2 separate regions of the Homo sapiens genome follow, and region 1 is linked to region 2. The links are contacts of gene promoters, found by promoter capture Hi-C in human tissues and cell types (Jung and others, 2019). All regions are on one chromosome and are shown on one strand. Each heading gives the region's core, a stretch centred on a gene start or on the middle of the fragment in contact. The rest is flanking DNA. Distances are from core to core; before and after follow the strand shown.

Region 1 (6,101 bases), core at 717-3,216, 260 kb after region 2:
TTTCTTTATTTCCAAATATGAGTAATTTTTTTTCCTTATTTTTCCTAATGATTTCTGACTTAATTACATTGAGGGCAAGAGAACATGGTTTGTGTGATGCCAACCCTTTAAAATTTGTTGAGAGTTTAGTTATGATTCATTTTGTGGTCTGTGTTTTTTACGTTTGGAAACGATATCTTAAGCAGTTGTTAGTAGAGTGTTCTATATGTGTCTGTTCTAACAAGCTTATTAATTCTGTCATTCAAATCTTATATTCTTAACTATTATTTTGTCTGCTTGCTCTGTCAGTAAAAAGAGTTGTGTACTAAAATTTTACTGATTGTAGTGTTGTCTGTTTCTCTTTGTATTACGCAGTAATCTTATTAACCTTTAATAATGTATTTTGCTTTAGAAAGCTATTTTCTTTAATGTTGATATAAATACATGAGCTCTCTTTTTGTTAGTCATTGCCTATTACATCTTTATATCTTTTTTTTTTTTGGAGACAGGGTTCACTTTGTCACCCTAGCTGGAATGCAGTGGTGAGATCACAGCTTACTGTATCCTCGACCTCCCAGGCTTAGGTGATTCTCCCACTCAGCCTCCTGGGTAGCTGGGACCACAGGCATGTGCCACCACACCTAGCTAATTTCTTTCTTTTCTTTTTTCCTTCCTTCCTTCCTTCCTTCCTTCCTTCCTTTCTTCCTCTCTTTCTTTCTTCTTTCCTTTTTTTTTTTTTTTTTTTTTTTTTTTTGTAGGGACAGGGTTTCCACGTTGCCCAGGCTGGTCTCAAACTCCTGGGCTCAAGCGATCTATCTGCTTCAGCCTCCCCAAGTGTTGGGATTACAGACGTGAGCCACCACACCTGGTCTATTCCTTATTATATCTTTATATCATCCTTTTATTTTCAGCCTTTCTGAATCCATGTTTTATATATATCTTTTATAAATACTGATCAGTTGGATTTTAAAGAACCCAGTCAGACATGCTTTGTTTTTTAACTGGAATATTTGGTCCATGTACATTTATTATATGACTAATATTTTGGATTTTTTTCCATTATTTTATTTGTATCTCCCCTCTAGCCCTGATATACTTTCTGTACAGATTTATCATCTGGGATTAGCTTCCTTCTATCGAAAGCTCTTTTAGGATTTTCTTAATGAAGGCCTACTGGTGGCAAACTCTGTCCTTCCCTACCTACTGGAAAATATCTTTATTTTGCCCTCATTTTTAATTACTATTTATTTGGGGTATTAAATTCTATAATGTTAGTGGTTTTCCCTTAGTAATTAAAGATACCTTTGTGTAAATTAGCGGGGCGTGGTGGCGGGCACCTGTAGTCCTAGCTACTCGGGAGGCTGAGGCAGGAGAATGGCGTGAACCTGGGAGGCGGAGCTTGCAGTGAGCCAAGATCATGCCACTGCACTCCAGCCTGGGCGACAGAGCAAGACTCCATCTCAAAAAAAAAAAAAAAGTTAGTGGTTATTCTGCTATTTATTGTGTACTTTTAAAATCTTGTTTCTGTCCAATTCTCCTCTCCTGATTCTCAAGTTTCGTGGTTATTTTTACTGTACTGCTTTTTAGTCGTATTTTCAAATCCCTTTGTTTCTTCAAATGAAGTCTTTGAGGGTCTGATTTTGCTGTCTGTTGTTTCTACTAGTGTTCACTTTTGTTGCCTTGTTTCTTTTGATGTTTTATGATTTATGTGAATTCATATTTCTTGGAACTTTAACTGTGAGAACATTTGGAGTCCCGGGAAGAAAGTGAATTCCCTAGAGGTTATTTGCTTTTTCTTTTTACTGGGCATCTGGGGACATTACAAATCTAAGACCCTATGAAAATAAATTCTCAGCCCACTTAGTGTGAATTATGGTTGATTGGGGGTTATGAAATCTTAAGAGAGTATCTTCTGTTCTCTCCCAGTCATTACTAGGGTTCAAGACAGATAATTTTCTTTGCATTCTCCTGGGGGTACAGACGTATTTCTAATTCAGCCTTACATTGGGTGTGTGTGGTGAGGTTTCAGCTTTATGGAGGAGGCATCTTAGACTCTTCAATTCTGATGGGCTGTGGGCTTTGCCTCTTTTTTCCTTCCCATTCTCCTCAACCCCATGAGGCCATGAAGATTGAAACTCAAGCTCATCAAGTTTAGCGACTGTCCCTAACTTAAACTTCTTTGAGGTACTGTACTCATTAATTTTGGCCTCAATGTCCTTATTCTCATCAGCTCATTGAGCATTTAAAAGATGATCCCCTCCCTATTTTATTTAACATTTTTAGTTTTTTTTTTCTGAGAGGGGCCAGTAATGGTACCTAGCCCTCCCAGTGCTGGAAATGAAAGTCCTGATTGCCTTTTGAGCCTCCCTATCACACAGTTGTTCACAGTGTTTTTGTGCCAACAGTACTTAAAGTCACAATCATTTAATTGTTGGAGATTATAATTTTAACAACCTGTAAAGAAAGTTTTTTTAGGAATCAGTAAACCACTCTTCTTAAGGATAAAGATAACTGTAGTAAGTCCAGTTTTTAAGTCCGGTTATAAAAGATAGCTAACTTTAAGAGGCCGGGCATGGTGGCTCACGCCTGTAATCCCAGCACTTTGGGAGGCCAAGGTGGGTGGATTGCTTGAGGTCAGGAGTTCGAGACCAGCCTGGCCAACATGATGAAACCCCGTCTGTACTAAAAATACAAAAAAATTGGCTGGGCATGGTGGCACATGCCTGTAGTCCCAGTAACTTGGGAGGCTGAGACAGGAGAATCGCTTGAACCCGGGGCGCTGAGGTTGCGCCACTGCATTCCAGCCTGGGAGACAGAGTGAGACTCCATCTCAAAAAAAAAAGAAAAAGGAAGCGAACTTTAAGAAATCTTTCACATAAAGATATGGTGGAATTTTGGTATTTTGGGCCACAAAAAGAGGAAATGGAGGAAATAAGTAAACCAGTAAGGGAGAATATCTTGTTACTTTATCCTTTTAACAAAATTAGAGTATTGGCATTCAGAAAAAGCTAACAGTGCTGCTGCAAGTGACGGGAATATTTTCATATTTTCCCAACTGCTTGGGAATATTTTCATTTTTCTTTTGTAATTATATCATGATAGTTATTGATGTGTTCATTATTAGCAGCTAGGGAGCATGAAATCTAGGTAACTCTGACAGAACACGTGTTTTTAAGGGAGAGGCTTCATGAATCAGCTTTTTATTACAACTTGGGGGTGAGCTAGAGTTACTTCTCCAGCCTCAGTTTTTTACCAGGTTCCCTGAGGGCCTGGAGTTTAGTCTACTTTTTTGGTTTGTGGGAGCCTGAATTCAGTGACAATGAATGCATTATGTTTATTTTTCTTGGTTTCTGGAAAGGTAAGAGAAGGAATACTAGAATATTGTTTTCAGTTTATGTTGAAAAGTTATTTTCTGTGTTTGTGCATAAGCTAGTACCTCTGAAATGTTGTCAGTTAAAACATCTTACTGAAAATCAGAGGTTTCCTTAGTAATTTAGATTTATTAATATGAAAAATAAATCGCTACATAAAAAGCTATTTGAGAATCCTCTTCAAGGTCATTTAGCTACTGCCATGCTGAAACTGATTTATTTTGAATATCATTATTTAAAGTATACATTTCACTTTTAACTCCAATAACATTGTGCCTTTCAAAGGCACTTAGGGGAGGAATTTATCTATTGATGACTCTTTAGGAGGAGTGGAGAAGGCTGAAAATAAATTCTTCCTTCAATTATGCTTTCATATTCAGCTATGGGTTTAAAATAGGAGACCTGGGTTTATTATTATAACTTGCTGTCAGTGGCCAAATTAATTGTCTCAGAACAAATTAATATAAATTACAGTTATAAATTTGGGGAGGAGGATGTTAAATATCTATATCATACCATGTACCATAACACATTCTAGATGGTTTAAATACTTAGGTGGGAAAAGTAAAACGATTAGACTAAATTATGGAACATTTATATATTATTAGAGTAGGAAGAGATTTTCTTTGCCTGTCACCCAAGGCATAGAAACTGTATGGCTAATGACAAACTTAAAAAAAAATCCCATTACATATGATGAAGAGTTAATGCTGTTAATAAAGAATTCCTGAAGTTCTAAGAACATGAAACATTGTAATGAGTCAAAGATGTAAGAAAAACCTTTAGTTTCATAGTCAAAGGGATGCAAATTACAACCAAATGCTGTTTTAGAAATATAAAATTGGTAAAGTTTTAAAAAGATAATAACTAGTGTTGGTCAAGATTGTAGGAAATGGACTCATCATGTAATTATTGACAGCATTATGATTTAGAGAAACTTTTCTGAGGGTAGTTAGGTGGAATGTATAAATTTCTTAAAATTTTAGTATACCCTGTGACCTAACTGGTCTATTTGTAGGAATTTATTGCAAAGAAATAATTGGATATGTGTGCAAAGGTACACATTTAAGAATCTCTTATGCAGCTTTTTTTTAAATAGTCTATGGAAAACTGGAGGTAGTTTGATGTCCAGAGTGAAGGTAGTTTAAATAATATATGGTTGTTTTCTACAATGGAATATTGTATGTGTGGGTAGTAAAAGTGATATTATAAAGGATTTTTCAATTCATTCGTCAGTCAACAGATATATATTGAACTTCCAGCCCATGCCAGATGCTAATGTAAACAAGCCACGTCTCTGCCTTAATACATCGGTAGAAATGAAAAATATAGCATATGTAACTGAAAAAAGTAGATTACAAATTTGTATGTACATATATACTTAATGTTTATATGTACACTGAAATATTGGAATAATGTATATTAGAATATTGTCATTCTGGATGGAATGATTGCATGCTATTTATTTTTGTTTTCAAAAATTTTAAGTAAGAAAAATTATTCTAAATAAAGATGAGATGCCTGGGTAGGGAGAAAGGGTGACTACAGTAGTCCCCTCTTATCTGTGAGGGACACATTCCAAGACCCCCAGTTGGATGCCTGAAACTGCAAATGGTACCAAACCTTATATATACTGTTCGTCCCTATACATGCATACCTATGATAAAGTTTAACTTATAAATTAGGCACAGCAAGAGATTAACAACAATAACTATTAATAATAATAAAGTAGGACAATTAGAACAATATGCCAGCATTACTGCTCTTGCACTTTGGGGCCATTGTTGAGTCAAATAAGGGTAACTGGAATATGAGCACTGAGATATCAGAAGAGTCCATCTGTTGACTGAGATGGCCACCAAGTGACTGACAGCCAGGAGTATAGACAGTGTAGATACACTGGACAAAGGGATGATTCATCACTTGGATGAGACAGAGTGAGATGGCACACAGTTTAAAACTTATGAATTGTTTATTTGTATAATTTTTCATTTAATATTTTTGGGTCCCAGTTGACCACAGGTAACTGAAACCTCAGACAGCAAAACTGTGGGTAAGGGGGTACTGCCGTACCTGATTTCTTATGAAAAGAAAACAAGAATTAACACTAACCACAACCTTATGCCAGGTGTGTCTCCTCATCTACATCTTGTTAGAGCCTTTTGGGATAGTGATATTATCCCATTTTGCCTCTCAGAATACCAAGTACCAAGCCTCTCAAAAGTTTTGCATGTCCAGAGTCACAGCTGGTAAATGATGAAGCAGGACTCTCCTCAGGTCTGTCTGCCATCACGTCCCATTTTCTTTTTGCTAATCATCATGCCTTGGCTAAGTACATCTTTTGCATATTAAAAAAGTCTGATATACCTCTTGACAGTTTCCTATATCTATTGACAAAATTATGTGAAAAAATTTCTAGTTTGTTAAACAATTACAGATTTTGTGTTTAGGGTAACAAAATTTTAGTACAAAGTGTTTGGTCAACTAGCAACTCTATATTGGCAATATTTAATAATTACTGAATTATGAAAGGGTGGTAGAATTAGATGGATCTTAGAGATTAGTCCAACACCTTGATTTTCCAATATAGCCCTAGTATATGATAACTCTGTTTTTTACTAAGTGATTTGATAAATGTTTAAAATCATATGGTCTTGATTCCTTTTTAAGAATTTTCATGTCAGTTCATAAAAAATCTGTCAGACCATCTACATTCATTTTTGGTTAGAGAAATGGTGTCAGCAAATCCTG
Region 2 (5,797 bases), core at 1,553-4,052:
AAACAGATTACTTTGGTGGCAAAGTGAAAAGTTGATTGGATGAGAGAACATTTTGAGGCAGAGAGACCAGAGAAATTTTGCAGGCAAAGGAGAGATAACAGAGATTAGGATAGCACAGGGATGGAGAGAAGAGGACAGGTGCTAGAGATATTTGAAAAGGTAGAATCAAGAGTTTGGCATCTGACTGGATGTCATAGACAGAGTCATGGCCCGCTGTAGATGTCCATGTCTCAATCCCAGGAGCCTGTGAATATGCTTCATGGTAAAAGGGACTTTGATGATGGGATTAAGATTCTTGAAAGGAGGAGATTACGCTAGATGATGAAGGTGAACCCAATGTAATGAGGGTCAGAGTCAGAAAAGGCAATGTGAGGATTGTGGCTGAGGTTAGAGTGGTGTGCTTTGAAGATGGAGGAAGGGTCCATGAGCCAAAGTATGTGAGCAGCCCCTAGAAGTGGAAAAGGTAAAAGAAATGGGTTATTCTCTACAGCCTACAGAAAGAATACAGCCTTGTAGTCACCTTGGTTTTAGTTCACTAAAACCCATTTTGGACTCTTGACCTCCAGAATCGTAAGATAATAAATGTGTGTTTTAATCCACAAAGTTTACGATAACTTGTTACAGCAGCAATAGGTAACTAATACACTGGGCATGGGTATAAGGGTGAAAGGAGCATTGAGAAGAAGGGCCTTGTACAACTGGGTGGATGGCTGTTTGGGACCCCAGAGTCTGGGAACCCAGAAGCAAGAGTGAATGAGGGGCCGGGTGCAGTGGCTCACACCTGTAATCCCAGTACTTTGGGAGGCTGAAGTGGGGGGATCATTTGAGGTCAGGAGTTTGAGACCAGCTTGGCCAACACGGTGAGACCCCATCTCTACTAAAAATACAAAAATTAGCCAGACATGGTGGCACATGCCTGTAATCCCAGCTATTCAGGAGGCTGAGGTAGGAGAATCACTTGAACCCGGGAGGCAGAGGTTGCAGTGAGCTGAGATCACGCCACTGCAATCCGGCCTGGGCGACAGAGTGAGACTCCATCTTAAAAAAAAAAAACGAGTAGGGGAAGAACAGAAGGTAAAGAAACATTGACGTGGCACTTAGTGAGGTTGGGGTGCCTGTGACACATCCCACTGGACAACTGGCCATAAGGATCTGGCCCTCAGGAGAAAAGCTGACCCCGAGAGAGGGCTTTTGGAGCACCCTCAAATATTCTGTGATTGAAGCCAAGGAGTGAGAGAATTCGCAGAAACAAACAGAATCAGAAGAAAGGAAAGCCTAGAACAAAACCCAAGGAAAACTAAAACTCAAGTGGAGCAAAGGGGAGTGGCCAGAGAGGAAGAGGAAAACCCAAGACTTGTGGGTCACAGAAGGCAGAGGAGGGGAGAGTTTCAAGGAGGAAAATCCAACACTTACGGAGCACCAAAAGAAGAGAAGGGAAGAGTTTCAAGGAGGGGACCAGTGTCTCGTGTTCCTGACAGGAGAAAGAAATGCCTGGAGAAAGAAATGATTGAATATCTACGTCAATATTGAAAGTGGATTTAGCATGAGGCTACTATAGTTTAAGCTTCAGAGACCCTTCATAAGCTCAGGAAGGGGCCCTAGAAACTTCGTATTTGTAATTGTTTTATTCTTCCTAAAGAGGGACTCAAAATTCAGAAACTTCAGGGCCTATCAAATTCTTACCAGTATGATTTCACGGTTAAGAGCTTAAAGCCTGGAGACAAAAGAAGCCTGCTTTCCCTTTCGCTGTTTAGTAACTTTGGATGGGTCACATTAACTTTCAGCCTCGGCTTTCCTCAGTTGTAAAATGGGAATAACGTTTCCTACACCTATAGGGTTATAAGGCTCAAAGAGTACCTACACAGTGCCCCGTACATAATCGATGTTTATAAGCGTTAGCTACCATTGTCACTCTTGTCGTTGTTGCCGTTAGCTACCATTGTCACTCTTGTCGTTGTTGCCAGAACAAGACAATAAACTCCTTAAGAACAGGATGTGGCATCCCCCAAAGCCCATCACAGGCACACAGACATACTTGCCAAGTGAATACTCCACTCTCCCCCAACTCTCTGCGTGTTTAACTAGAAATACAACTTTAATTATATTCTTAGTGCGACACACACGGTTGGCTTTTCAGCAAGATGCCAGTAGCAGCTTCCTGAAAAAGGGTGCCTTCGTCTCAGTGTTCCCCCTTCTTGGTGAGCCCCGAAACTCACAGATCGTTTGTCTCCCGCACCCCGCCGGCTCCTCCCTCCCGGGTCAACCTGGGACAGACGCGGAGATAACGCACTGACAGCATTAGCATTGTGTGTGCCACTTAAAAGGCGCTCAAGGAATAAGGGATGTTAGTACATTTTCCCCCACATTTCCTGGCCCGCACTCATTGCCTGGGGGCTCAGCGGAAGTCGCTTGGGGGTGCGGGGGGGTGGAGGGTGCGGTAGGGATGGAGCCTCGCCCAGTGCTTTCGCCTCCTCAGCGTGCTCCCCGGGCCCGGCTGGGTTCAGGTGTCCCTCCGGGCCGCCGGGGCGGGCTGGAGGCCGGGAGCGGGCAGTCGACGCATCCGCCGCCGCCGCAGGAGGCGGAGCGCTGCACCTGGCGGCCGGTCCTCAGCGCCCGGCCCTGAAACGGGTCCAGCCGGTAGTGACCGGCGGCGGCGACTGTGAGGCCGGGGCCGGGGAGGAGGAGGAGCCGCAGCGGGAGAGAAGGTCGCGCCGGCGGGAGCGCTGGGCCCTCCGCCTCCGTCCTCCGTGGCCCCACCCGGTCCGCATCCCTCGCCTCGCCTCGCCGCGCCCCGCCCAGCCCGTCGCAGCCCCGGAGGAGCGCGCGAGCAGCCCGGGATGGTGCGCGCTGCCCCGACAGCCGCCGCCCCGGCGCCCCGAGCCGCCGCCCCGTGCTCCGGGGACAGGGCTCCCCGCGCCCCGCGCAGCTGAGCGCTGCCGCCGCCGCAGCAGGTGAGTCGGGCCCGGCTTGCGGAGAAGGGGCTCGCAGACCCGCCCTGGCCTCCCCCGCCCCGCACGGGCCCAGCCGGAGGGCGGGTAGGCACCTCAGCCGCGCACACCTGCTGCCGGGAAAGGGGCTTCGGGGCCGGGGCTCGGAGCCCAGCGTGCGCCGCTGTCTCCGCTCGGGCCTCGCTCGCCCGCCGCTCCCTCCCTCCCTCCCTCCCCCGGCTTCCGTGTCGGGTGTCATCTTTGTGGGGTGCTGGGGGAGGCTGCCGCCTGCGCCCCCAGCGCGCCCCGTGCTGGCAGCACTTCCGCAAACGTAACTGGAGTCGGGAAAACAAAGGCGCTGCCCAGGGAGCCCTCGCCGGGCGCCCACAGCTGCTGCCGCGGGTGGGGACGGAGGGTGAGCGCCGATGCCCGGGTCCTCCTCCGCCCGGGCCGACCCGCGCCCTCGCCATAAACATCCCTGGGAAAAAGGAGGAGGTGAGAACCTCCACACAGCCCCAGTGACAAGGACGCGGCCACTTGTGTGGCAGGAGGAGGAAATTGACAACGTCTGCCCTCCCAGGTTAATAAATACGGAAAAAAAAATACCTCTGCTCTGCCAGCCACCATCCTAGCAGACATCCCCCACCTCGTGCTTTACTTCCACTTGGTCTAACATGTCTCTGGAGCCCTTTTGAGATACTACTGGGGGTTGCTAGTCTTTCTGGGTCATATTTATTGCCCATAGAGCAATTTTCCTGCAAATTTAGGTAAGATGGTGGAAAAATACAAACGCAACTTTCCCCCTCGTTAATCCCATCCCCACATGGACAGACAGGTGGGTTAATTACCTTTATGCATTCGCAACCACGGACGTTTCTTTTCATCCCAAAAAGATTGAATAAGCACCTCACAGAACTACTGGAACATATAATACCTTGCTTATTAGTGTGCAAAAGACTTAAAGAGTTGGGGTTCTAATCCCAACTGGTATTTAAATAGATGTGTGTGCTTGGGCATGTCACATCTTCCTGAGCCCCAGTTTTCTCACATGGAAAAGAGGATGGTTGGATATTATAGTGGCCAAAATTTCCCCTAATCCTTCTAGAAGTCCATGATTTTCTAGAAATCTAACCTCTTAAGTATAGATGAATGTGAAGGGTGGGTGGACATACAGTTGACTAAAATATGTAATAAAAGGAGATGTGTACTTGGTAGGTCCTTTCCCCAAGATGTGGGCACTAGCCAGCTAAAAGTGTATGCATCTGTTTTAGCCTTGTTAAGTAAAAGGATAGGATCCTCCTCTTTGGGAAGCTTGGCTTTTGACACGTCAAGCTGCTAGCAGAGGTGCAGGATATGGTCAGCTGTTTAGTGATAGTCAGATGGCTTGTATTTATCACGAGGTGTAAGTAAAATTTAGGATTGCTTAGGGGAAGGATGGGACATTGTTAATGAGCCCAGTGCAGGATGCTCTGGGGAAACAGGAGGAGAGAACATCACTTCAATAATGCATTAAAGCTACTAAGTAGTTGTGTGTCCTTCATGTTTACAGCAGTTTATTTCTAAGGCACTTTCCATCTCTATACAAATAAATATAAAAGCGTGAAGGCAAATAAAACACAAAGACAAAAAGCAGAGTTCACAGGTATTTGGTGGTGTGAGTATTGGATCACCAATTCCATCATATATAGTGTCTGGACTATTAACAGTATTAAGGCATTTTTTTGGGTACTTATTATGTTCAAGACACCATTGTAAACATTTAGTATCTCAATCTCTGTAAGATAAATCTTTCCCCTAGTTCTGTGCATGACAAAAAGGAAGCTCAGAAGGGTTAAGCAACTTACACAAACCACATAATCAGTAAGAGGTAGAGTTAAATTTGACCTCATGTTTCTGGCTCCAAAGCCCAGGAAATTTCCACATGGTGTCCCTCCCTAATCAGAACCTATTAAGTCTCTCCACCTACGCAGATGTCTTCCTTAGCTTCGTGCCTTTGAAAATTAACTTGATTTCAATGTACATGTATTACTTATGTTAACATTTAGCCATGTAGGATAATTTATATATTTATTACGTATGTATATTAATGTGTGTATGTTTACCCTTTTGTCCTCACCAGTTGTAGATTGAAGGCAGTATGAAGCTGACAGGTTTCTTTGTTTTACTTCCTTTGACAGCAAATCTTAATTTGGCAATCTCATTATAGGGAAAGGAAGAAATGCAAAAAATGTGTGTCTGCTAGCTATTTTGCACATTGGCTGAAAAATCAAGATGCTGTATATTAAATGAAAAAAATGGCTGGGCAAGGTGGCTCATGCCTGTAATCCCAGCACTTTGGGAGGCCGAGGCAGGTGGATCACGAAGTCAGGAGTTCAAGACCAGCCTGGCCAAGATGGTGAAATCCCACCTGTAATAAAAATACAAAAATTAGCTGAGCGTGGTGGCGGGCGCCTGGAATCCCAGCTACTCAGGGGGCTGAGGTAGAGAATTGCTTGAATCCGGGAGGTGGAGGTTGCAGTGAGCCGAGATCGCGCCACTGCACTCCAGCCTGGGCAACAGAGCGAGACTCTATCTCAAAAAAAAGAAAAAAAAAAACTAGCTTCAGAAGAAATTTATATACATTTGTTTAAACCTGCATACAGGCACACATACGCCTTTTTGTCCCCAAACTGTTGACAGTAGTTTTTTTTTTTTTTTTTCAGACAGAGTCTCGCTCTGTCACCAGGCTGGAGTGCAGTGGCTCGATCTCGGCCTACTGCAACCTCTGCCTCCTGGGTTCAAACTATTCTCCTGCCTCAGCCTCCCGAGTAGCTGGGATTACAGGCACATGCCACCAGGCTCAGCTAATTTTTATTTTTTTAGTAGAGACG

What was found. Contacts are between HindIII fragments. The study calls those that stand out against the background at their distance.
Region 1: a fragment that was not itself captured here is called in contact with the fragment with the promoter of MFSD6 in region 2 in 3 of the 25 tissues and cell types used here (hippocampus, lymphoblastoid cells and pancreas).

What each region holds. Positions count from the first base shown.
Region 1 is chr2:190,663,882-190,669,982 of GRCh38, forward strand. The region is part of intron 4 of NAB1 (NGFI-A binding protein 1); the gene reads left to right. Among named protein-coding and RNA genes, the nearest start is that of NAB1, 18 kb to the left of the region's middle. The HindIII fragment of the contact is 9,138 bases long and covers 1-6,101 here.
Region 2 is chr2:190,405,553-190,411,349 of GRCh38, forward strand. It overlaps MFSD6 (major facilitator superfamily domain containing 6), which reads left to right and starts at 2,803. Exons shown (of 8, transcript NM_017694.4): 1 at 2,803-2,951. RefSeq lists an enhancer at 2,074-2,123 and a silencer at 2,384-3,423. The HindIII fragment of the contact is 11,189 bases long and covers 1-5,797 here.